7 separate regions of the Homo sapiens genome follow, and regions 1, 2, 4, 5, 6 and 7 are each linked to region 3. Evidence: promoter capture Hi-C in 16 types of primary human blood cells and fetal thymus (Javierre and others, 2016). All regions are on one chromosome and are shown on one strand. The core of a region is centred on a gene start or on the middle of the fragment in contact, and the rest is flanking DNA. Distances in the headings are between cores, read along the strand shown. Region 1 has its middle 160 kb from the start of LINC01747. Region 2 has its middle 160 kb from the start of SSTR4. Region 3 holds the start of CD93 (CD93 molecule). Region 4 overlaps NXT1-AS1 (NXT1 antisense RNA 1). Region 5 overlaps NXT1-AS1 (NXT1 antisense RNA 1). Region 6 has its middle 47 kb from the start of NXT1. Region 7 has its middle 170 kb from the start of SSTR4.

The links. Contacts are between HindIII fragments. The CHiCAGO score rates a contact against its expected background, and 5 or more counts as called.
Region 1: a fragment that was not itself captured here is called in contact with the fragment with the promoter of CD93 in region 3 in 1 of 17 cell types (neutrophils); the score reaches 6.6 in neutrophils.
Region 2: a contact is called between a fragment that was not itself captured here and the fragment with the promoter of CD93 in region 3, in 1 of 17 cell types (neutrophils). The highest score is 5.6, in neutrophils.
Region 4: a fragment that was not itself captured here is called in contact with the fragment with the promoter of CD93 in region 3 in 6 of 17 cell types (neutrophils, endothelial precursors, monocytes and 3 more); the score reaches 9.8 in neutrophils.
Region 5: a contact is called between a fragment that was not itself captured here and the fragment with the promoter of CD93 in region 3, in 4 of 17 cell types (monocytes, neutrophils, endothelial precursors and 1 more). The highest score is 9.3, in monocytes.
Region 6: a fragment that was not itself captured here is called in contact with the fragment with the promoter of CD93 in region 3 in 2 of 17 cell types (neutrophils and monocytes); the score reaches 6.5 in neutrophils.
Region 7: a contact is called between a fragment that was not itself captured here and the fragment with the promoter of CD93 in region 3, in 1 of 17 cell types (neutrophils). The highest score is 8.2, in neutrophils.

What each region holds. Positions count from the first base shown.
Region 1 is chr20:22,840,498-22,843,918 of GRCh38, reverse strand. No RefSeq gene overlaps it. Among named protein-coding and RNA genes, the nearest start is that of LINC01747, 160 kb to the right of the region's middle. The HindIII fragment of the contact is 3,335 bases long and covers 495-3,421 here.
Region 2 is chr20:22,876,735-22,880,200 of GRCh38, reverse strand. No RefSeq gene overlaps it. Among named protein-coding and RNA genes, the nearest start is that of SSTR4, 160 kb to the left of the region's middle. The HindIII fragment of the contact is 5,211 bases long and covers 1-3,466 here.
Region 3 is chr20:23,085,052-23,088,332 of GRCh38, reverse strand. CD93 (CD93 molecule) reads left to right here and starts at 2,009. Exons shown (of 2, transcript NM_012072.4): 1 at 2,009-3,281. The coding sequence starts at 2,141. RefSeq lists enhancers at 179-318, 1,846-2,025. The HindIII fragment of the contact is 6,182 bases long and covers 1-3,281 here.
Region 4 is chr20:23,339,992-23,343,021 of GRCh38, reverse strand. All of the region lies in intron 1 of NXT1-AS1 (NXT1 antisense RNA 1), which reads left to right. Among named protein-coding and RNA genes, the nearest start is that of NXT1, 9.3 kb to the left of the region's middle. RefSeq lists a silencer at 2,349-2,398. The HindIII fragment of the contact is 6,381 bases long and covers 1-3,030 here.
Region 5 is chr20:23,319,591-23,322,591 of GRCh38, reverse strand. All of the region lies in intron 1 of NXT1-AS1 (NXT1 antisense RNA 1), which reads left to right. LOC105372571 (a long non-coding RNA gene) reads left to right here. Exons shown (of 3, transcript XR_937379.3): 2 at 227-273; 3 at 1,383-1,639. Among named protein-coding and RNA genes, the nearest start is that of NXT1, 30 kb to the left of the region's middle. The HindIII fragment of the contact is 8,680 bases long and covers 1-3,001 here.
Region 6 is chr20:23,302,371-23,305,419 of GRCh38, reverse strand. No RefSeq gene overlaps it. Among named protein-coding and RNA genes, the nearest start is that of NXT1, 47 kb to the left of the region's middle. The HindIII fragment of the contact is 4,186 bases long and covers 1-3,049 here.
Region 7 is chr20:22,859,004-22,862,218 of GRCh38, reverse strand. No RefSeq gene overlaps it. Among named protein-coding and RNA genes, the nearest start is that of SSTR4, 170 kb to the left of the region's middle. The HindIII fragment of the contact is 1,159 bases long and covers 1,179-2,337 here.

The DNA of each region.
Region 1 (3,421 bases), core at 913-3,412, 240 kb after region 3:
CCTGTCTGTCGAGAACTCTACCGATGCTTCCTTTCAGCAACTGTGGTTGATAAGAATGAAAACCAGGATCCACATAGTGGATCTTTTCTCTCATTCATCATTTGCTCAGTCTTTTCAACTTCACTTTATTGTGCACCTGAAGTTACAACTTAAAGTCAAGGTCCTGACTCATGAAGTGCAAAATGAACCGAGGCAGGAGGATAGCTTGAGCCTAGGAGTTTAAGACCAACTGGGCAACATAGCAATAACCTGTCTCTATTGAAATAAAAAATAAGAGTGAAAAAGTGAAGTTAGTAGTTATCACAGAGCAAGGCTGAGCTCTTGGTTCTTCATGACACCCTTTGCAAGTGCTCATTGCTAGGTCTCCATCCACACCAATCTGTGATGACACGATTCACAAGACATTAGAAGAGAAGCCAATGACTGCTCACACACAGCCTCCCTATCTATAAATTCAGGGAAAGAGTAGTTGATTCCAAATGCACCACGAAGCTTTTGCCTGAGGTCACAAAAGTAAACTTGAGGCATAGCCAGTGCTAGTAACCCAGGGTCTACCTCCAATTTTGCTTTCCTCCACTTCATTGCTAATAGGTCACAAAAAACTGTGTGCCACCCAGGAAAGTCAGGAGTGCCTTGCAATTGCAGAAGCTGAACATGAACAGGAACCTACGCACGGACAGCTCCTCCCCTGCACACCTGAGAAACCCTCTTCCTTCTGTTTCCTTGATTCCTGACTTGCCTTGGACCAGGGACGCTGGCCTCTTCACTTCCTCCAGAGCAGCTGCTCTTGCTATGTCCCTGTGAATGTCCCACTGTGGATTCCACTGCCCACCTGGACTGGGGGAGCAAGCCTAGAACCTGATCACACTGCCTGTTAGAATCAATCATGTCCCTGGCTCTGTGACTCCATCCTGCCCCATTACATGAGATGGCACGTGTGAGGCACATGTTAGGCGCCTGAGAAAGTTCAGCTCTTGTTGCTGTGGTGATGAGGATGTGACAGGCCGGATGTCCAGGTATTCTTGCATAATCACTTTCAAGATGTCACTTTGCCAATGAGCTCGCTGCCATCTCATGCTTTTCCCATTTGAGTAAGCCTATTTGTGTAGACAGTGCACATAGGCAGGCTGCCACCCATGCTCTGTGGCTTGTTACGTGTTTAATTTACATATTTAGGGCCCCATATTCAGTCACATTTTGACAGATGTTTGTGATTCTTGTAAAACCAACTCCATCCAGCCACCTTGCTCCCAGCCCTACTATCCAGGACTTTGGCTGTAGCAAAATTCTAGAGCTGTGCCTTGTGTTTGTATTACGTTTCACTTCTCTAAAATTTTCTCTTGTGATCTCATGCAGCATTTCTTTCTTGTCAATAACAGTCTCAGAGTCTAAGGTAGAGACAGAGCCAGGCTGTCTAGCTCCCCTATCTGGGCTCTTTCTAATACCACATACCCTTCCCACCCAGGAGCCCCTGTCTGTGCTGTTTTGCTGAGGGATGCCCAGGTTTATGAAACCATTACCCCAGTTGACTTATTAAGGGCACTCCTTTTAAATGATATGATCACTCAAGTTTTCTGACATTCTCAGTTAGGGCCCATTTGGGAGTCCCCGTAGAATCCACTCCAATCTCCTGGGTGGTATTTCTGGGCCTGACTTAATCTTCCAGGCCCATGGCTGTGTGTCAGGAGGAGTCCCTTCTCCCTGCCCATCAGCTGTGCCCTCTTGTGTTGATACTTCTCCTTTCCAGAGCCATCAGGGGTGGAGTGGGGAGAACAGAGAAGGAGGAGAGGAGTGGCAGGAGGGATAGGAGGAAAGTAAGATGAGAGCCAGAAGCAGAAGGGCCCCCATATGGGAGACAGCAGTTGGGGTGGGTATTCTGGGCAAGGGAAGCCCCTTCTCATCATCTACGCATCTCACTGCTTAGAAGCGCAGTGGCTGCTATTTGGCAGTGAGCTGCTTGTAGAGTTATTTGCAAAGGTTCAGTGTTTTTGTTATTTAAGGAGCTGCAAATAAACCTCCAAGGTCCTTAGCTCCACCATGAAACATGCAGGTGAGCATTCCCTCGACTTCACGTGTGAATGATGGCACGGATGGAAAAAAATGGAACAGAAGGTACTATTTTCCATTTCTGAGTAATTCAAGATGAGAAATGGCTCTTTGTCCAAAATCCCTTGCATGGGTCTACTGGTAATTCAGCAAACAGAGAATGTGCTGAAGATTACTTAGAAAGACCACCTGCCATCATTTCATGAAGGTTTGGAAATGTAGCTGATCATGTTGCCATAAAAACATCCTCGGAATAATGGGAGCCCTTTGAAGGCTTTTTTCTGCCAGATCCGGGGCATTTTCTATTAAAGACAAAACAGAACACTGACCCTTCCGGGTATGGTTTCTGACTTTTATAAATTGCTTGTTTGATTTTTAAAGGTTATTCCTACAAGCAGACTTGGTACTTTAGTTGAGCCTTCTCAAAAGAAATTAATCTCCCAATTTATAGAGTGGTTTGTGTTTGCAGTTTAGTCTTAGAGTAGAATGAGACCAAGTGTATGCATAGCTTCTCTAAAGTCAACAGAGCGGAGCCCCAGAGACAAATTCACAGTTGCAGGACAAATGAGAAGAGGAAAAACAGCTCCTTGCTTCCTTTCTGAGGATGAAGGAAGTCTTTGGCTTTAGACAAAATCCTGCTGCTTCTGACTGCAGCCCCCAGGCAAGGACTCAAGTCATAAATAAATGCCAACTTTATCAACACCAAAAACCACTGTGGGAGACCTTAAGATTCCACCAATAAAGCTCAAATCCTGTCAAGTACAATCCTGAGCTACTTCAATATTGATCTTGATATTTATAAGGGAATGCTTATGATTTGCTAGCACTTTGTACTCTGTAGAGTCTGTGGTGTTCAAGGAAAGGGTTTTTATTTCCTAGGGAAGTCAGGTTTTAGGTCCATGTTTGTTTGTTTGTTTTAGAAATTAACAATGTCTTATTAGCATCCAGTGTTAAGATAATAAAGGTTTCTATGCTAAAACATCAGAAATGGTGTTAGCTGATAATTAGGTGTTAGGACTCAGCATGTGAGAAAAGATGACTTAGTCCTCTGCAAGTTGTACTGTCACTACTGTGGGCATTTCTTCAACATGAAATCCTCTCTGTGCTGCCTTTAAGTGGAGAGGATTTCTTGTTTAGTTGTATTAATAAACATAGCAAACAATGAGTCCCAGGCTAGTATAAACATCATTTTCAAAGTATTGACTGGCGTCTTTGTTATTTTTGCTTTCAAGTAGACTGCATAAAGACATTATTGGCTTGCTTCTGCTGATTCTATAAAATAGATATTTGCAAAATCTGAGGCTTGAAACAGGCAGATAGCAGCCCAGAAACTTGATTTTCTTAGTTTTCTTTCTACTACTGCATTGTCTCACGA
Region 2 (3,466 bases), core at 808-3,307, 210 kb after region 3:
TTGCTTCTTAAGGGAATTTGTGGTAGGTAGAATAGTGGTTTCTATCCAGCCCCAAGATGTCCACAGCACAGTCCCTAGAACCTGTAGTGTGTTATTTGGCATGGCAAGAAAAACTAAGGAAACAAAATCAGCTTGCAAAACAACCAACCTTGAAATATGGAGATCATCCTGCATAAGCCAGGACAGCCCAGTGTAATCACAAGGTTTTAAAATGTGGAAGAGAAGGAAGAGGATAAAAGGTGGAGTGATACAATGTAAGAACACAACCTATTGTCGCTGGCTTTGAAGATAAAGAAAAAGGGTCACCAGCCAAGAAAGAGGATGGCCTTGTGAGACTGGAAATACTAATGAGAAGGATTCTCCCTGGGAGTCTCGAGAAAGAAATGCACTTCTGCCAATATCTTGATTTTAGCTCAGCAAGACCCATTTTGAATTTATGAATGATAAAATGTAATTTGTGTTGTTTTAAGCCATGAATTTGTGGTAACTGGTTATAGCAGCTTTAGACAATGAATACAGGCTTGGGAAGGAGTTCTCCTGCACTGCTACCTGAAGCTGGACGCTTCCATTGCAGCTCCCATCTGACCTGCTATCTCCACACTGGTGCTAGCTACTCAGATGTGGCTAGTGTCACCAGCCTGTCTCTGTCTAAGATTAGCTCTTCCTAACTCTTTCTGTGGATACTTGGTTACTTTCTGTCCCTACCTCTTTGGCCAGTTTAAAAATAGAAGATGGACAGAACCCGGTCAGATTTTATCTCCTTAGGTGAAGGACAGAGTTTTAGACTTGAACTAGCTCTATATTTTACTCAGTCTAAGTGGAGTGGGTATGCATTTTCTGAATCAGATCATCATCTGGACAGGGCTTTCTCTGCAAAAGTCCTCAGGCTTTAGTATGTCTACATCAGCTAAACGTGTATTCTCCAGCCTTCTGGTAGTCACATGTATCTGGTAATCACAAGAGAAAAGGATGTCCTAATTGCCCCCAAATGATTTTTGAAGGACACTGATACCCAAGTCTGTGGACTGATCAGATATTCCACCACCCTCAGTTTTAATCCTAACTATACGAGTTCTGTTCTCAAGACGTGTGTTTGCCATTGTCCTATCCCAGTGACACATTCTAGTGATGAGGTCCAGTCTCCAGGCTAATTGGAAAGAGGCCTAACTCTGGGTAGGACTCCTCTTCTGAATGTGATGGATCAGTTAGGATCAGGCTCCCTCCCTCCTGGAGCAAAGCCATTACTTGTCAAAGGAGTGTATTAGAGAATGGGGATAATGAGGGATGAAGGAAGGGGGACTTTTGAACATAACATTCCAGTCCCTCTACTTTTCATTCCCAGGTCTGATTTTAGGGTCAATGGACTGGGTTACTTCATATAAAATTCCATCCAGCTGCAAACCAAACATAACTCAATGTTTTAATTTGGTCTTGATGAAATTGCCCCTTGTCTCTGGGTTCTGACCACAGGTGATAGCTCCCCCTACCTGAGTGAAATGTCCACCTCTGTCCCCATGCACCATTCTTCCAGCAGTCCTAGCAAGTTGGCCAATGCCCAGTAGCTTCATTCCAGGCTCCCTTTGGAGATGATTTTGTTTCATGAGACTTTTTAGTATTTGGATGAAGCAGTCATTCCTTGGGGAAGGGCAAGTGTTTTACCTTGGGCCTTCTGATCCTGTATTCCTAATAACTGCATCTTCCACGTGCACACTCCTAATATGGGTGAAGGAAACCACACTCCAAATCTACATATCGAAGTCTTCCTTCTTGTAGGCAGACTTGTCTTGCAGCTAGGGGCATCTGAACACAGCTTCCTTTGCCACCAACCCTGGCCTCATGCCCAGCTACAAAAGGGGTTACTAGAGCAGCTGTGATTTATGCCGATTATTACTTCTTTTATGCATTCCCCTTGAAATATTATATGAAAGTATTGGTGAAAGCTAATTGTTAAGTTTTGAGAAGGGAGGATAATCTTATTGACATCCCCTGCTTAATAGGCAGCCGATGGAAATTTGTGTGTCTTTTGTGTTAGGAACTTTCATCTGGAAAAAGGATGGGATGGAGGCTGCCCAGCGAAAAGGGTGGAGTAGATGATTTCTATGTAGACCTCCAGCTCCACTTACCACTCACTACTTGACTTGTGCCTTTTCTAACATGCTCGTGACGCCAAAGGCTGACCTATGGAGACTACATGGGGACTACTCAGCAGGCTCCTTTATCCTCGGACTTCTAGGTGGTTTAGATTAATGGTGAACACAAGAAGGAGGGCTGAGGACAAGAGCAGAGTGGAGCAGAGGATTTCACTCCCCAGGTCCCCCCTTAAAGGTTGCCTCTATCTAAAGCCAGCACTCCCATGGTGGGTGCCTCTTGTATAAGCAGGTGCTCCAGCTCTGTATCTGCTCCTTGCTGCTCCCCAACCTCAGGCCCAAGTGGGTAACATCTCCCCAGCTGAACCTATCTTTATGAGTTTTCCGCACCCTGAATCATGCCATTGTAAATGGCCCATTATTAAATTTTCCTTAACCCTTGGGGATGTCATCTGTTTTCTGCTAGGACCCTAACTGATACACAGTCCTTTCCAATGTGGCAGGTTGGTGATGTTTTCCTTACTAGAAATAGACACTTATTCTGGACATGGATTTTTCTTCTTTGATTATTAAGATTTTTCAAGCATCCAGCATCTGTGAATTTATACAATGCCTTCTTTACTGCCATTGGACACCACTTCATGTTGCTTCTGATCAGGGAATCTCTTTTACAAGAATACAGGTCGAGGCTGGGCGCAGTGGCTCATGCCTGTAATCCTAACACTTTGGGAGGCCAAGGCAGGTGGATCACTGGAGGTCAGGGGCTTGAGACCAACCTGGCCAACGTGGCGAAACCTCGTCTCAACTAAAAATACAAAAATTAGCCAGGTGTGGTGATGTGTGCCCATAATCCCAGCTATTCGGGAGGCTGGGACAAAAGAATCACTTGAACTCAGGAGGTGGAGGCTGCAGTGAGCTGAGATCATGCCACTGCACTCCAGCCTGCACCCTGCATGACAGAGCAAGACTCCGTTTAAAAAAAAAAAAAAAGAAAGAAAGAAAAGAAAAGAAAAGAAAAGAAAAGAAAGGCAAAGAAAAGAAAACAGGTTGATTGGGCATCATTATTGCTATGTTGCCATGTACCCCATCACCCTAAAAAGTTGTCCTGAATGAATACTGAAATTGCCTGTTTAAAACTCCATTAAAGATACAGCCATGTGACAAAAACCTTGAGGGCTGGTGGGTTATCCTACTGAAGGACCTGATGCTCTAGACCAGTGACCAATATATAGTACTGGTTCTCCCATAGCTGAAATTCACATTTAGGAGCCAAGAGATGACAGCAGTAATGGATCCTCTCTGTTACTGCTAATGATCTACTTATAGAATTCTTGCTTCAGTCCAGAAAATTCAGCCCTGCTGTTTTAGGGGTCTGAAGA
Region 3 (3,281 bases), core at 760-3,259:
TGGTGGTCGCTGGTGCCGGGTCCACAGGCGTTCACTGTGTTCTCCACCGTGGCGCTTCTTCCCCTGGGGCCCTCACGGTCAGTGCAGAGCACCAAAGAGTTGCCGCTGTGTAGAGAATTCTTATAATTGTGCATTGCATCCATTTTGAATCTAATTTGGACCCTCTCCTACCAGAAGCAGGGTTTATTGCTCTTGACACGGTGTCTAGGGCTCCACCCCCTCCCAGTTCCTCAATGCGGCCAACCCAGATATCTGCCTTGTACACCCACCTCCTGGTGACCATTTCCCTGTGGGACAGGCAGATACAGCCCATTTGATGGTCTCAGTGACTCCACACCCCACAGGGACTTCCCAGACATGCCGCCATGCCCACCTCTCAGCCACAGGGACCCCACGGAGCCCGTGTCTGTTTGCTCTAAACCCACCAGTGAGAAGTCCCCTTGGGAAACCTGCTTGGGAAACGTCCTGGACCCCAATAAAGGCTTAGGACCCAGGTCTCTCTCTCTCCCTTCACCCCCCTCCAGGTGAGTGTTTGTGACCCAGACAGCTCCCCACTTTTTGCTGGCCCCGTGGGGTGCACTGCCCTCTCCCTGGGATCTGTAAGTGACACGGTGCTTGTGTTGCTTCCTGTGTCTTCTTGTGCTGCCTCCTGCATCTCCCCTGACCCACACCCCAACCCAACTCTCCTCCCATCAGGGATCTCTTAGGAAGTGGCTGTCTTGATAGGAATAAACTGGACATGGGTCAGACGAGAGCCACAAGGGTGTCTGTCCATAGAAACAAGTTTTATGTGAGAGAGACCCCTGGTCACTGGGCAGGGCTAGAATTTATAGTCAGTCTCTCAAAGTGAGAGATACAGCCTGCTACCAATGACAGGGGACTTGGAGAGCAGTGGAGCCTCTCCCTCAGCTGAGATGGTGCTGAGGTGTGGTCCCCTCAGGCCCCCAGAGTTTCCTGGCACTGGCTCCAGCAGCCCAGGGTCACCTTCTCAGCAAGTCATCATGGGTTGGCTTCCTCCTTGTCTGTTTCACTTCCCCTCCCACATAAACTAGTCTCCCCAAATCCTGTCTCAGGGTCCCCTCCTGGGGGATCCCAACCAATGAGCAAAGGTCTGTGGCTGCAGGAAAAGCACACTGTGAGTCCCTGGCTTTTGCCGAGTCGCGGTGTCGCGGGAGGGCCTGCCCGGGCTTCGATTCCCGCTCCCTGCCCAGATTTCCGGCCCTTGCTAGGAATCCTGAGCCGGGGGAAGTGAGCCTGCAAGCCCTGCGCCACGAGGCCGGACACATTTTCATTTTCTTTCTGATGCTTTTTGTGACCCTGACACCTCACAATGCAATATTTCCACTATGAAACCCCCAGAACTGCCAAATTTCACCCAATTTGGATTAACATTATCGAGGAGCTTGGCATTATGTTGAAAACCCAGACATTCCCACGACCCGTATCCTATTTAAAAAATGCCTGTCTATTTAAGGTTCACGATGGGAGGATAAAAGAAAAAAGGCTCCCAAAGTCAACAGAGAACATGAGCTAGGCAAAAGGAAAGTCCAGTTTGCTTCTAAAAAAGGCTGAAAATTATAACCATCCATGGCCTTGTGTCTTAAGTCTCAGAATTTTTTTTTTCTCTTTTGGTGGTTTGCAAACCAAAGTGGAATTTTATTATGGGTTACTAAGGGAGCTTCCTCGAGTTCCTAGCCCCCAAAGCCCCTGCTCACTCCATGGCATGCCTCCGAGGCTCCTCATGCCATGAGAAAGAGAATGGAGCCAAAATCAAGCCGGCAGTATCTCGGGGCTGTAACGTCTTCCCCCCGTCGCTGTTTCCACAGTGCTGAGCCAGGGACCCGGCAGAGCTGCCTGACTCCTTTTATGAACAACAGCACCGTGATGAAGGCAGCAGGAGTCAGAGAACTATTCATTGCAGGAAGCCCCAACATCCGGTGAGAAATAAGAAGTACAACAGTACAGGATGCGCCTTGGGTCAGGGGGACGTGGAAAGCCCTCAGCCTTTGTGTCCTTCTCTGCGCCGGAGTGGCTGCAGCTCACCCCTCAGCTCCCCTTGGGGCCCAGCTGGGAGCCGAGATAGAAGCTCCTGTCGCCGCTGGGCTTCTCGCCTCCCGCAGAGGGCCACACAGAGACCGGGATGGCCACCTCCATGGGCCTGCTGCTGCTGCTGCTGCTGCTCCTGACCCAGCCCGGGGCGGGGACGGGAGCTGACACGGAGGCGGTGGTCTGCGTGGGGACCGCCTGCTACACGGCCCACTCGGGCAAGCTGAGCGCTGCCGAGGCCCAGAACCACTGCAACCAGAACGGGGGCAACCTGGCCACTGTGAAGAGCAAGGAGGAGGCCCAGCACGTCCAGCGAGTACTGGCCCAGCTCCTGAGGCGGGAGGCAGCCCTGACGGCGAGGATGAGCAAGTTCTGGATTGGGCTCCAGCGAGAGAAGGGCAAGTGCCTGGACCCTAGTCTGCCGCTGAAGGGCTTCAGCTGGGTGGGCGGGGGGGAGGACACGCCTTACTCTAACTGGCACAAGGAGCTCCGGAACTCGTGCATCTCCAAGCGCTGTGTGTCTCTGCTGCTGGACCTGTCCCAGCCGCTCCTTCCCAGCCGCCTCCCCAAGTGGTCTGAGGGCCCCTGTGGGAGCCCAGGCTCCCCCGGAAGTAACATTGAGGGCTTCGTGTGCAAGTTCAGCTTCAAAGGCATGTGCCGGCCTCTGGCCCTGGGGGGCCCAGGTCAGGTGACCTACACCACCCCCTTCCAGACCACCAGTTCCTCCTTGGAGGCTGTGCCCTTTGCCTCTGCGGCCAATGTAGCCTGTGGGGAAGGTGACAAGGACGAGACTCAGAGTCATTATTTCCTGTGCAAGGAGAAGGCCCCCGATGTGTTCGACTGGGGCAGCTCGGGCCCCCTCTGTGTCAGCCCCAAGTATGGCTGCAACTTCAACAATGGGGGCTGCCACCAGGACTGCTTTGAAGGGGGGGATGGCTCCTTCCTCTGCGGCTGCCGACCAGGATTCCGGCTGCTGGATGACCTGGTGACCTGTGCCTCTCGAAACCCTTGCAGCTCCAGCCCATGTCGTGGGGGGGCCACGTGCGTCCTGGGACCCCATGGGAAAAACTACACGTGCCGCTGCCCCCAAGGGTACCAGCTGGACTCGAGTCAGCTGGACTGTGTGGACGTGGATGAATGCCAGGACTCCCCCTGTGCCCAGGAGTGTGTCAACACCCCTGGGGGCTTCCGCTGCGAATGCTGGGTTGGCTATGAGCCGGGCGGTCCTGGAGAGG
Region 4 (3,030 bases), core at 348-2,847, 260 kb before region 3:
GCTTCTAGATGCTTTGTCTCCTAGCTGCCATATGTCCCTTCCTCCTGACTCTGAGAGCTGAGGGCTGGGGCCAGTGTCTGTGTCCCTTCCTCCTGATTCAGGACTGGGGGCTGGGGCCAGCCATTCCTCTCATGCTCTGAGGCTCACACTTACTTCAGCCTTGCTGAGTCGCTTATGCCCCTGCAGCTCCTACTGTGGGTCTGGAGTTTGGGCTCAGCTGTCTTTCTCTGGGGCCATTTGAACAATCCTGGTGGATAGAGCAGAAAGAGCATGCGAACTTGGAGTCAGATAGACCTGCGTGACCTCCTGTGAATGATCTAACCCTCTGAGCCTGTAAAATCAGGGTACCTGCTCCCTGATGTTGGCATGTGGATACCTGAAGAATGCCTGAGTAGTGGGTGCAGCTCTTGTGGCACAATTACCCCAACTCCACTCCCATCTTCTCTTCCTCTCTTAACGGGTCACTGACTTTTCTGGTCCTGAAACACACATGCTCCTCAAAGGGACTTGCCTGGGGCACAACTCTCACTCTGCAGTATCCCTACTTGTGAGCTCCCCATATCCTAGACTAGGGTCCCAGACCCGAGGCCCTCCATAATAAGACATGAGCTGGGTTCCCACCATTCTCCCCCGTGCCATGTTTCGGCCACGCGGAATCCATGCTGCTTGCCGCAGTCCTTAGGCTGCCCTCTCTGCCTTGTGTACCTTGCCCCCATTTCTGCACACATTTCCGCTATCCTTCAGGGACTGGCTCAGATGCCACCTTCTCTTTACAGCCATCCCACTTTGTGGAAAGGTCTGTGGTGTTCCCCCCTCTGAACATTCCTGTGCCCCTTTTGTGGCATTCATTTCTCGCTCTCTCCCCAGTGTTCGGCCAGGCCGTGTGGGCCCAGGGCGAGGCCCTGGTTTGCCCAGCATCAGCAGAGACGTTTTAGTGATGCATGGATCTGAGGGCTGGTCTGTGTGCGGAGAGAGGCTGCTCCCAAGTGGGAGATGCTGAGGTGCTTGGCAAAGATGGGACTTGAGAGAGGCCTTGATTGATGAGTGGGCTTTGAATAAGGAATCAAAGAGTCTTGAGAGCTCAGAAGTGAGCGGCAAGCACTTTTTGTCTCCCCCTGCAGCCTGGGAAAGCTGAGTGGAGCAGACAGTGAGATACCCTCTTCACTCCTTTCCAGACCAGGGTTTTCTGGCCACAGTCTTGGACCTTACTCATGGCAGGGCAGGAATGCCCAGAGTTAACACCCAAGAGCATCCTTCAGTAAGGACAGATGGGAATTGGAGGGTTCCAACCCTTCCAGTCCCTCAGGCAGGACATCTCTGAGGCACACCCCGCATCATCCCGGAGCTCCCCAGGGACTGAGCCAGGCACCTGCAGTGCTGCCCCTGTACTGGCTTCCCCCTGCCCTACCTCACATCCCCATACCCCAACAGGTGCCCCTGGGATCACCTCTCAAATAAGTGGCTTGCAGTGCAATTGTTGTCTCAGGGGCTGCTGCTGGGGACTCTGTCTAAGCTAGGGAGCAAAGAAAGGACTTTCTCTCACTGTTGAAACACCTGAAGAATGTCTAGATGGGTTTTCCTGGTCCCTTGAAGGGTCAATGCCTTGGCTAACAGCTCTCTTTTGGTGCCAGACAGTAACAAATCTAATGCAAACTACAGTTCTCAAAGTGAGGGAGCGTCAGAATCCTTGCTAACACTAGGGTGCCAGAGCCTTAGCTTCAAAGTTTCAGACATAGCAGGGCCAAGGGAGGCCAGAATTTGCATTTCTAACCAATTTCTAGTCATACTGGAAAGCCGGGACCACACTTTGAAAACAACTGCTCTTGACTAGAGAATAAAAGTAGCCTGGGTTGAAAAGTGCTCTGCAGCTTTTTTAATGAAGTAAATTATTATTTTACACTCTTCTGCAATTAGTTCAGCCTTGACTGTTGAGCTTAGTTTTCCTTTTTTTTTTTTTTTTTTTGAGACGGAGTCTCGCTCTGTTGCCAGGTTGCAGTGCAGTGGCGTGATCTCAGCTCACTGCAACCTCCACCTCCTGGGTTCAAGCAATTCTTGTGCCTGAGCCTCCCGAGTAGCTGAGACTACAGGCATGTGCCACCTTGCCCAGCTAATTTTTCTATTTTTAGTGGAGATGGGGTTTCGCCGTGTTGGCCAGGCTGATCTCAAACTCCTGACCTCAGGTGATCTGCCCGCTTCGGCCTCCCAAAATGTTGGGATTACAGGCATGAGCCACTGCGCCCAGCCAGTTTTCCCGCTTTTGAAGCTGTCTGATCTGTCTTGCTCTTCAAATCTGAATTGCCATTCACAGAAGCAGCCACACGAGGGTGGTCTAGCCTTTGACAAGAGCCGCTCTGCTTGCGTTGTAGACAGGATCTGAGTGACACCTTTTCTGATCAAGAAACCAAAGTGTTCCTTCCCTATATCAAACATAGGGCATTTAAAAAGTCCAAGATAATCTCCTTTGTCTTGACAGGTGGCTGCTCAGAGAGGCTTTTTTGTTTTTCTCTAGGATATTTTAGAAACGGTTTGGGAAAGCAGAGGTCTCTGCCTCTCCAAAGCAGCACAGCTTTTAGTGTGGTTCTATTTCAAATTCTGAGGTACTGTCTCAAAAATGCTTCCTGGTGAGCATTTTGGTCTAATGGCTGACTTTGGCACTTTGTCCCGGGATGGTTCCGAGGCGATGAATGCACAGTGTACAATGGGATGACCGCGATGGCATGTGGGGGATCAGCTCAGGGTGCCGGCGCAAGGCCCCAGGCAGCCCGTTCTTGCCAGCCAGTGCCTATGACCAGCGAGGGGTGGGGGCATCGAGAAGATCCTGCCCCTCCCCACGACCCTACCCCTTCTCCCGTGACATCAGAGTGTCATCCCAGGTGGAATATTCCCAGTATCCCTTCCTGCTCCCAGCTGTGGGCCCCTGGAGGGCACTCCGGGTGATGAGGATTCTCATCCCTGCTGAGTTGGAAAGGGGCACCCTGACAGGAGAGCTGGCCATGCCCCAAGCCTCCCCAGCCTTGCCCTCTGCATTCC
Region 5 (3,001 bases), core at 485-2,984, 230 kb before region 3:
TTTTCACCCACACCCACACAAACATCTATTGTTTTTTGACTTTTTAATGTTATTCTTGCAGAGTAAGGTGATACCTTATTGCAGTTTTAATTTGAATTTCCCTGATGATTAGTGATGTTAACCATTTTTTTAACATGCTTGTTGTGGGTTTGACATTTAAAAAGACTCATATTCCTCAGATAAGTTTTTTTCTTTTTCATCCCCACCCCCACTCTCCCCGTCCCAGTTGAGCCTCCATCATCTCTCACCTGGACTGGTGCAGTCTTCTCCAAGGTAAAGATGGCTAATGGTCTCCCGCATTCATCCCCCTTTTTCCTTAGGAACAGAACTCCCGATTATTTTGAAGTGGGAGGGCACATGGTAGCTCAGAATACAGACCTGCATTTGCCAGCCTCCCCTGGAGCTCTGGCCAATAGGAAATAAACAGAAGTGTCCTATACGACTTCTAGGAAATACACTTAAAAGGACAGAATGGGTTCTTCTTTGACCTTTCCTTACAGCAGCTTGCTGGAATGCAGGCGTGCTGGCTGGGACTGAACCACCCTCTGGGACTGTGAGGCAGCAATGTTGGATGGCGGGGAAGCAGGCTGGAAGAAAATTTAAGGTCTCCATTACCAGCCTCAATCGGCCTATCTCTATACTTGGTTTACATTAGAGAGAGAAGCAACTGTGTTACTGAAGTCATTGTTATTTGGGAATTTTGGCCCCATGCAGCTGATCCTAATTAGCTACATCTCTGATATAGTTTCCTGCCCCTGCCCTTACCCAACCCCCTCATTTTTTATTTCCAACATAGCAACCACAGTGGTTCTTTAGAAACTTGTCAGTCCCCCCCAGCTCAAACCCTCCTTTGGCTTCCCGCTCACTCTGACTATAAGCCAAAATCGAATCAAAGCCAAGTCCCTGCATGGCATGCACCTTCCATCTCCCCACCTCATCTTCTCCCCCTTGTACCCTTGTTCACACCAATTCAGCTCCAGTGCCCTGTTTGCTGTTCTCAGAGCAAGCTGTGTTTGCGCCTTTCCCAGGGCTGAGGGTTAGAGGTTAGCTGTTCTTGCAGTGGACGCTGACAGGGCTGGCTTTCTCTTTTCATCCTAGTTTCTGCTCAAATGTCACCTCATCTGAGAGACCTTCCCTGACCCTCCTACCTAAAACAGCTCACACCTTCCCCATCCCTCTCTAGCTGAGTGCCTTTTTTCTCTACACGTGATAAGGACAGGAGACAGGGAAATACTGAGAAGTGGGCGGTTCCCCAGCAAAGATCCCACCCTCAAGCCTGGAAACCCGTGGCCCTAAATGGGAACAGCCCTTCCTGTTTTCAAGCCCAAAAGTTGCCTTTTGGCCTGCTGTGCCCCCCTATCCTGTACTTGTACAAACCCCAGACCCTAGGCTTCAGAAGCAGACGAGGGAACGAGCAGAAGAACAGAAGAACAGCAGAATGGCATGGCAGAGAGAAGAAAGGGACCATCTGAACGCCAAGAGAAATTCAGCTGGGGGAGGTCAGAGAGGAGATAGACTGCAGGACAGCCAAGCTCCAGGGGAAGATCATCTTCCCACTCCATCCCCTTTCCAGCTCCCCATCCATCCCGCTGAGAGCCACCTCCACCACTCAATAAAACCCTGCATTCACCATCCTCAAGTCTGTGTGTGACCTGATTCTTCCTGGATGCCGGACAAGGACCTAGGTACCATGAGGGCACTGAGCTGGTTAACACTTAAGCTATCTGCAGGCAGCACAGCTAAAAGAATGCATGGTAACACATGCCTACTTGGGCTTTGGGAGTTGCAGGCACCCACCCCTAGAAGCTACCATGGGGCTGGAGCCCCAAGGTGCTTGCCCTGGCTCCTGCACCTGCTTGTCTGCATGCTCCCCTTCCTGTAAGGGGTTTGCACAGGTGAGGTGGCCAAACAGATGAGCCACACCCCTATTGCGTGTCATGTGAGGAGGTTCAGGGAACTCTTCCATTTCACGTGGACTTCCCACTGAAGTTGTATATTCATTTCCTTGTGTGCCGTCCCCTTCCTCTCCACTAGAGGGAAAGTTCTTTGAGGCTGGGCTAGCCTCCGTCTTGTGTGCAGCTTTATCCGCATTACTCAGAGCAATGCCTGATGTGCAACAGGTGCTCAGCTAGATGAATGCCGGAACAAATAAGCAGCGTGAGAGGGGCTCCTGGCTTTTATGGGGAGGAAGACACAACAACCGTGGAGAACCAGGATGCTTGGACCAGATCACTGTGGAGTCTGGGATCTTGTTTCCAGCTGGCCAATTTTTATTGAAAAAGGGTCTTGCAGGCCGGGCATGGTGGCTCAGGCCTGTAATCCCAGCACTTTGGGAGGCTGAGGCGGGTGGATTATTTGAGGTCAGGAGTTCAAGACCAGCCTGGCCAACATGGTGAAACTCGTTCTACTAAAAATACAAAAATTAGCCAAGTGGTAGTGGCATGCAACTCTAATCCCAGCTACTCAGGAGGCTTAGGCAGGAGAATTGCTTCAGCCTGGGAGTGGGGAGGTTGTGGTGAGCAGAGATGATGCCACTGCACTCCAGTCTGGGTGATAGAGTGAGACCCTGTTTCAAAAAAAAAAAAAAATAGATAAAAATGTTCTTGCAGATCTGAGTCAAAATAATTCAGAGTTCTTTTCTTGAATAAATATTTAGTTCTTCTGGGTCATTGCTCTAAATCAGTGGTTCTCAAGGCGGGACATTTTGCTCCCAGAGGACATTTGACAGTGTCTGGAGACAGCTGGTCACACTGGGACTGGGGGTGCTGCTGGCATTGAGTGAGTAGATGTCAGGGGCATTACTTAGAAAATACTTCAATGCACAGGACAATACCACACAATAAAGAATTACCCAGCCCCGAATGTTAATCATGCTGAGATTGAGAAAGTCTGGTTTAAACATCTCATGAAATAACAGGATTCAAATCATATCATATGCTGCTGGTATAAATACAGAATTCTGTGAGATTCTTCAAGTTCAGGAGAAGTGGGAGGAAGACTA
Region 6 (3,049 bases), core at 443-2,942, 220 kb before region 3:
GGTCTGCAAACTTGGCATGAAAGAGGCTCCTAGGTTGGCTGGAAACTTATCTCAGCCACACACAGTTTGTGGAAGGAGGCAGGCTCTGGCAGTCCCTGCCTGCTGGAATGAGTAACTGTGAACAAGAAGTTCATAGAGTTCTGTGGTTTGGTAGATATTTTCAGTTGGCCAAGTGTTTCCACCCAAGACAGCATGAGTAGAGAGCAGACAGTGATGACTTCAGGGCCTTGTCAGTGGCACACCCTCAGCAACAGCTAGTTCTGGCTGCGGTTAGTGTCTTGAGAGGAGAGTGTCGGTGGGAGATAGATGCTTCATCTTGAGGCCTGTAGCATGAGCCCAGAGAGGGATGGAGGGAATCTCAAGGCTGAAATCTGAAAGTAAATTCTAGGGGAATCACAGGTAAGGCTCCAGATGAGAACAGCAGCAAAGGAGATGCCCAGAATCACACCTGTGGTCTTAAAGAAGGGAGATGGGATGCTGCCGGGAATGTGGGATGCTGTCGGGGAGGCAGGATGCTCTTGAGAATGTGGGATGCTGTTGGGGAGGCAGGATGCTGGTGGGGAGGCAGGCAAGGCGGGATGCCATTGGGAAGGCGGGATGCCGTCGGGGAGGCGGGATGCCGTCGGGGAGGGTGGATGCCGTCGGGGAGGCGGGATGCTGTCAGGGAGGCGGGATGCCATTGGGGAGGTGGGATGCTGTCGGGGAGGTGGGATGCTGTTGGGGAAGCGAGATGATTTTGCAGAGGCAGGATGCTGTTGGGGAGGCGGGATGCTTTTCTCACTCTGGCTGTCCCTGTACACCAGGGCACTGTCTCTGCCCAGTGCTCCTGCAGACTGCCTTCCCCATGAGGCACAGTCAGTGCGAAGAACAGGGGGAGCAGGCCAGCAGGGAGAGGGGACAGTGTGGCCCTTCTTTCCCTGCCTCAGACCCTGGGGGACAGCACCTGCACCCACATGGCCCCACCTCTCTAGGCTGCAGTAACGCCAAGCAGCCCTGCCCTGCAGCGTAAGGCTTTGACAGCTCCCAGGCATTGCCCATCCCGGGTGCTCGTCATCCTGGTTGTCTCTTTCACACCTGGAAAAGTGCCCCTCCATTAAAGGTTCCCATCTGAACCCTCTGAGTAGAAATCTGTTTTCTGCCAGCATCACAATGATACAGTAAGAAATAACTTTAGGCCAGGCACGGTGGCTCACGCCTGTAATCCCAGCACTTTGGGAGGCTGAAGCAGGCAGATCACTTGAAGATAGGAGTTCGAGACCAACCTGGCCAATATAGTGAAACCCCGTCTCTACTAAAAATACAAAAATTAGCCGGGTGTGGTGGCACGTGCCTGTAATCCCAGGCACTCGGGAGGCTGAGTCACAAGAATTGCTTGAACCCAGAAGGCAGAGGTTGCAGTGAGCTGAGACTGCACCACTGCAATCCAGCCTGGGTGACAGAGCAAGACTCCATCTGAAAAAAAGAAGAAAGAAAGAAAGAAAGAGAGAGAGAGAGAGAGAAAGCAAGCAAGCAAGAAAGAAAGAAAGAAAAAGAAAGAGAGAGAGAGAGAAAGAAGGAAGGAAGGGAGAGAGAAAGAGAGAGGGAAAGAAAGAAAGAGTGAGAAAGAAAGAAAGAAAACTTTAAATCACATCAAAGCAGAACAGGCTTCCTGGTGAGTTTCTTATCATTAGAGAAGCTCAAGGTAAATTTGGATGATGCATTGGTTCAAGAGGCAGATGCCAAGATGAAATGTGACTTGTGGAAGGTCTGCTGGGGAACCATGCTGTGTAGCCTGACCCTGGGACAAGGAGAGGGTGAAGGATGAGGGATGGGTAGGAAATGCTGAGAAATCCTCAGCCAGCCCCGCGGGGGGACCCTGGTGCACAGGCTGCTCACTGGTGGGGTGCTGCCTTGGGCAGATGGCTTGGCTGTAGTCCCCCACCATGCTCAGTCATATTGGGTGAGTGGGGCCTCAGTGTGAACGCCTCAGCAGAGCCAAAGGGGCTGAAGGCCTCCCACTGCTCTTCTGGAGAGAGAGAATGAGAGAGAGACAGACAGACAGAGAGAGAGAGAGAGAGAGAGAGAGAGAGAGAAAGAGAAAGAGAGAGTCTGAGCTCAAGTTAGGTTACGTAGAGGCTGCTCCCATCACTGCCTTCCTGGGTCAAACTTGTCCAGATCAGCTTTCCCATCACCAGTCATTTCTGCGCCAGGTGCACTAGAATGTGAGGCCCCTACCCACTCCCTGGAGAAGGACAACAGGTTCCTGATTGGTCACTGAATTCTTTGTCATTTGAAAACAAGTCAGATGTGCAGGCAGCCTGGCACATGCAGTGTATAATTTTGAGAATGCAGCCACAAGTCAGCACCTAGAAAGAAGTTTGGAAATGTTGATGCTCAGCTTCTGGGGCTTGTGTTGCAGAAGCCGGCAGAGAGGGCTCCTTGCCGGGGACCCTGGGGTCTTAGCAGCGACTCCTGCTCGGACTTGCGGAAGCACCCTGAGAAGCTATCGTCAGTCCCTTCTCCTTCAACCTCTCCATCATCGCCACACTGTACACACTACTTTCCTTCAACCTCTCCATCATCGCCACACTGTACACACTACTTTCCTTCAACCTCTCCATCATCGCCACCCTGTACACACTACTTTCCTTTATAAGGACTACTGGGAAGAGAGGTAGGAGGAAGTATCAGAGGTGCCGCAGGAATTTTGTCTCTCTGCTGTTGGCTGCCGCCCCTGTATTTGTTTAGCTCTCTGCAGTGTGCTTTCCCTACAACCCTGTCAGCAGGGAGAATGGGGGCTTTGATGTCTACTGGAAGACTGAGCCCCAGAGCCACATCCTCCCTAGCACATCACAGAGGCCCTGGCCCAGCAAGTCCTCACCCCAGCCCATTGGCTCCAAGACAAACAGGCCCTGGTGAGGCAGCACTGCCTGGATCTGTGATGCCCTGGTTCAGGACAAGCAGCTGGAGTAGGCGGGGGAATGGTGGTAGGGAGTGGGGGCGGGGGGCGGCAGGGAGGGGGAGGAGGTAAGCCCACCTCCCTACTCTCCACCGAGAACGCAGCATGAAG
Region 7 (3,215 bases), core at 509-3,008, 230 kb after region 3:
CCTTTTCCTTCGTGTCATCACAGGGGCGGCTGCTCCAGGAAACCCGGCTCCTCCTTGATGAGGCTCAGGAACATGATTCCAGGGCAATGCACACCACATCCTGCCCCTCCCTGCGCATCCCTGAGGCTTCAGCGCCGCTCCCCTGGCTCCAGGCACATCTTGCCAGAAGCCCCTCTGTCCTGCAAATCAGCAAGACTTGCCTGGTCTTTTGATGGTTGAAAGGGTTTTTTTTTTTATTTTTTGCTCTGCAGAACATAAACATTCTGCCTCCAGTGTGTGTGCTGCTGAATCTGCTCCCCACATTACTGTAAGAAAAATTGTCCCCAAATTTACATCTGTGCATTAAATGACTCAGTGGTTACCCATTGCTGCTATATAACTTAATACTGACCTCGAGGGGTTGTTGTTGGAATAAAAGAGGCCTGTGTGAGTCGGTGTAGCTCATAGTCGGCACGCACTAGTGTGACATCACCCTCTTTGCTCCAGCTTCATGACCGGCCTTGCTGTGTTCTGACACCACAACTTTCAGTTGCTGATAATTCAGACTTCATCCGGACTCCTGATACTCCTGCGCTCTTTCTCTGGGTTAAGGACCAGGATTGCAGAGGGCATCCTCAATGGAAAGAGAATGCAGGTGGCTATGAACCCTGCAAGGTGCATAAAATCAAATTTATGGGCATAGAAAACAAAAGGAAGGCTGGAGATGGTGGCCTGTTCTCTCCGTGTGGAAACCCTTTTGTGAGTCACTCTCATTACGCTTCAGTTCCTCACATGACAACATTCCCCAGCAGCAAAGCAAATGGGTTCTTCAGCAAGATGGTGCCTTGTTTTGATTACTGGGGATTACTTAAGCCATGAAGAATAGCTTCCATGCTAGTGTCAGTAATGAAAAAGCCGTGGAGATGATGTCATTATTACTTATTTTTGAGCCCCAGTAGAATATTTGTTATTTGTTAGAACACCAGACCACGTAGTTTCTTACCACAGGGACTTCCAGTCTCATACCGTGTATAATGCACTCACCGTGTACAGTACAATAAACCAGATGATATGTCGTAAAAAGGCGGTCATCCTTACTTGGAGTTTCCCACTGCTGATTCTATTAACATTCAGTACAGACCCTTCATTCCAAAGATAGGCATCATACTGTCAGAGCCTCTTAGCGTGTTTACCAAGCTTGCCACCAGCTCATCAGCCCCCTTAACTTCCAGGAGTGGATCTGAGGAGCTCTGTGGTTTGCTCATGGTTACCTCTCCACCCTGGCCATGGTTCATTGGGCTGTATGTGGACCCTCATGCAGCTGCGCCTGTCGGGGTCCTGTTCTGAGAGTTCAGGACGGGACTCAGATGCCCAATCTGGGCAAGTCTCTTAAATGGAAGGAGCAGGGTCACATCTTACACCCACCAAAGCTCTCTAAAATCAGAGAGAATAAATAAGATGTCCAGAGGGAGGCAGCCCTGGCTGTGTGCTTGGTTTTGATCCTTTATAAGACATGGTCTCAAGTCTGGAGATACAAATTTCCCCTTTCGACTTAAGCTAGCTCACAGTGGTTGTTCCTTGAAAACAGAGTCCTTATCCAGTGTCTCCCACCAGCTCCAAAGCTGGATGCAAGAACATGAGTTTGCTGGGTATGCACATGAGCCAATGGTGCCGCCAGACTCTTTGAGCCCTCGGTGGCCTACCGTGGGGCCCTCAGGACCATTGGCTCAGTCTTGCCTCCTACAAATAAATGTTAAAAGCAGGCCAGGAAAGTAGTAATCTATACATGGCCCAGCAGTTTGGAAGTAGTTTTGCCCAAATGTGTGGTAGCCTACAAAAATCTAAATGCTCAGGGGCCAAGCCACTGACACATTTTAGATTTCTGCCATACTCAGAGAAATGTCAGATGCTGAGGGCTTTTCGGTTGCCTGCATACATTGGACATTTATGGATTTCTCTGTCCCATGTCTTGCAGCTCTTACTACCCAAGCCCTGTATTTTTACCCCTTCTACTTGTTACCTAGTTTGATTATACTGCTCATTGAGTTAGAGAGAGAGAGAGATAGGGAGGAAGGGAAAGAAAGACTAGAACCCAAGATCCCCTACTCCCACTTCCCAATTAATTCATTATTTGCTCATTCAACACCTATTTTATTGTGTTTCTGCTATGAGTTTGCCACTGTACTGGGCCTCTTGGACATAGTGGAGAACAACATTGGTGAGGGTCTTGTTTCCATGGAGCTTCTACTCTAGTGGAGACAAATATTAAGCCAATCATTACTACACAGAGGGAGAAGGCAATTGGTCTAAACTGGAGTAGAATCCATTGGATAGAGAACTCCCTAAGGAAGTGAAGCTTAGGCCTGAGCTCTTAAACATGTACAGAATTAAGTGGGGCCAATATATTTGTGCAGGATGTGATGGAGTGGGCATTCCAGGCAGAAGAAACAGCATGTGCAAGGGCCCTGTGGTGGGAGATGGCACGGTATGCTCCAGAGTCTGTGAGAAGGCCAGTGTGGCTAACACAGAGATGTAGGGAGCAGAACGAGGGAGGCCAGGCTGGCAACAAATCCTGGCTGTACCCAGGCCATTGTCCATGCCAAGGATTCTGGCTTTTGGTCTAACAGTGGGAAAATGGAAAGTCACTGAACTGGTTTAAGCTGGGGGATGAAGAGAAAATGTGTGTGCCTGAAATGTGCCAAGGTCCAAGTAAGAAATAATTGCAGCTTTGACTAGGAAATAACTGTGGATGTAATGGGAAGGGGAGAGAATTCAGAGTTATTTGGGGGCAAAAGTGATTGGATTTAGAAATGGATGGTATATGGGGGATGAAAGAGAGAGAAGTGTCAAGGATGGTTCTCAGGTTCAGACTTGCAGGACTGATGCAAGCCCCTCCTGAGGCCACATGCTTCTCCCCACCACTCCCTCCACAGGCACAACAATGACATGCAAAATAAGAAAGACTGTCTGAAAGTGGATTAGTACACAGAGGACACCAGCCAGTGCACCAAATACCCAGCAGCCCCCAGGGAGCCCCAGCATGGGTGCAGGGCATGGAAAGGCTCTCCCCACCAACCCCATGTCCACCACTGTCTTTGCCTTGTGACCCTCTTTGGCCAAGGAGTTGAAAAGTGAGGGCAGCAGTTGTAAGGGGGTTTGAGCTGTCATGCAGGAGGAGAGTACCCCTAGCTCCCATAGCCACTGAGAGTGGATATGGCAACTTAGGAACCATTGTT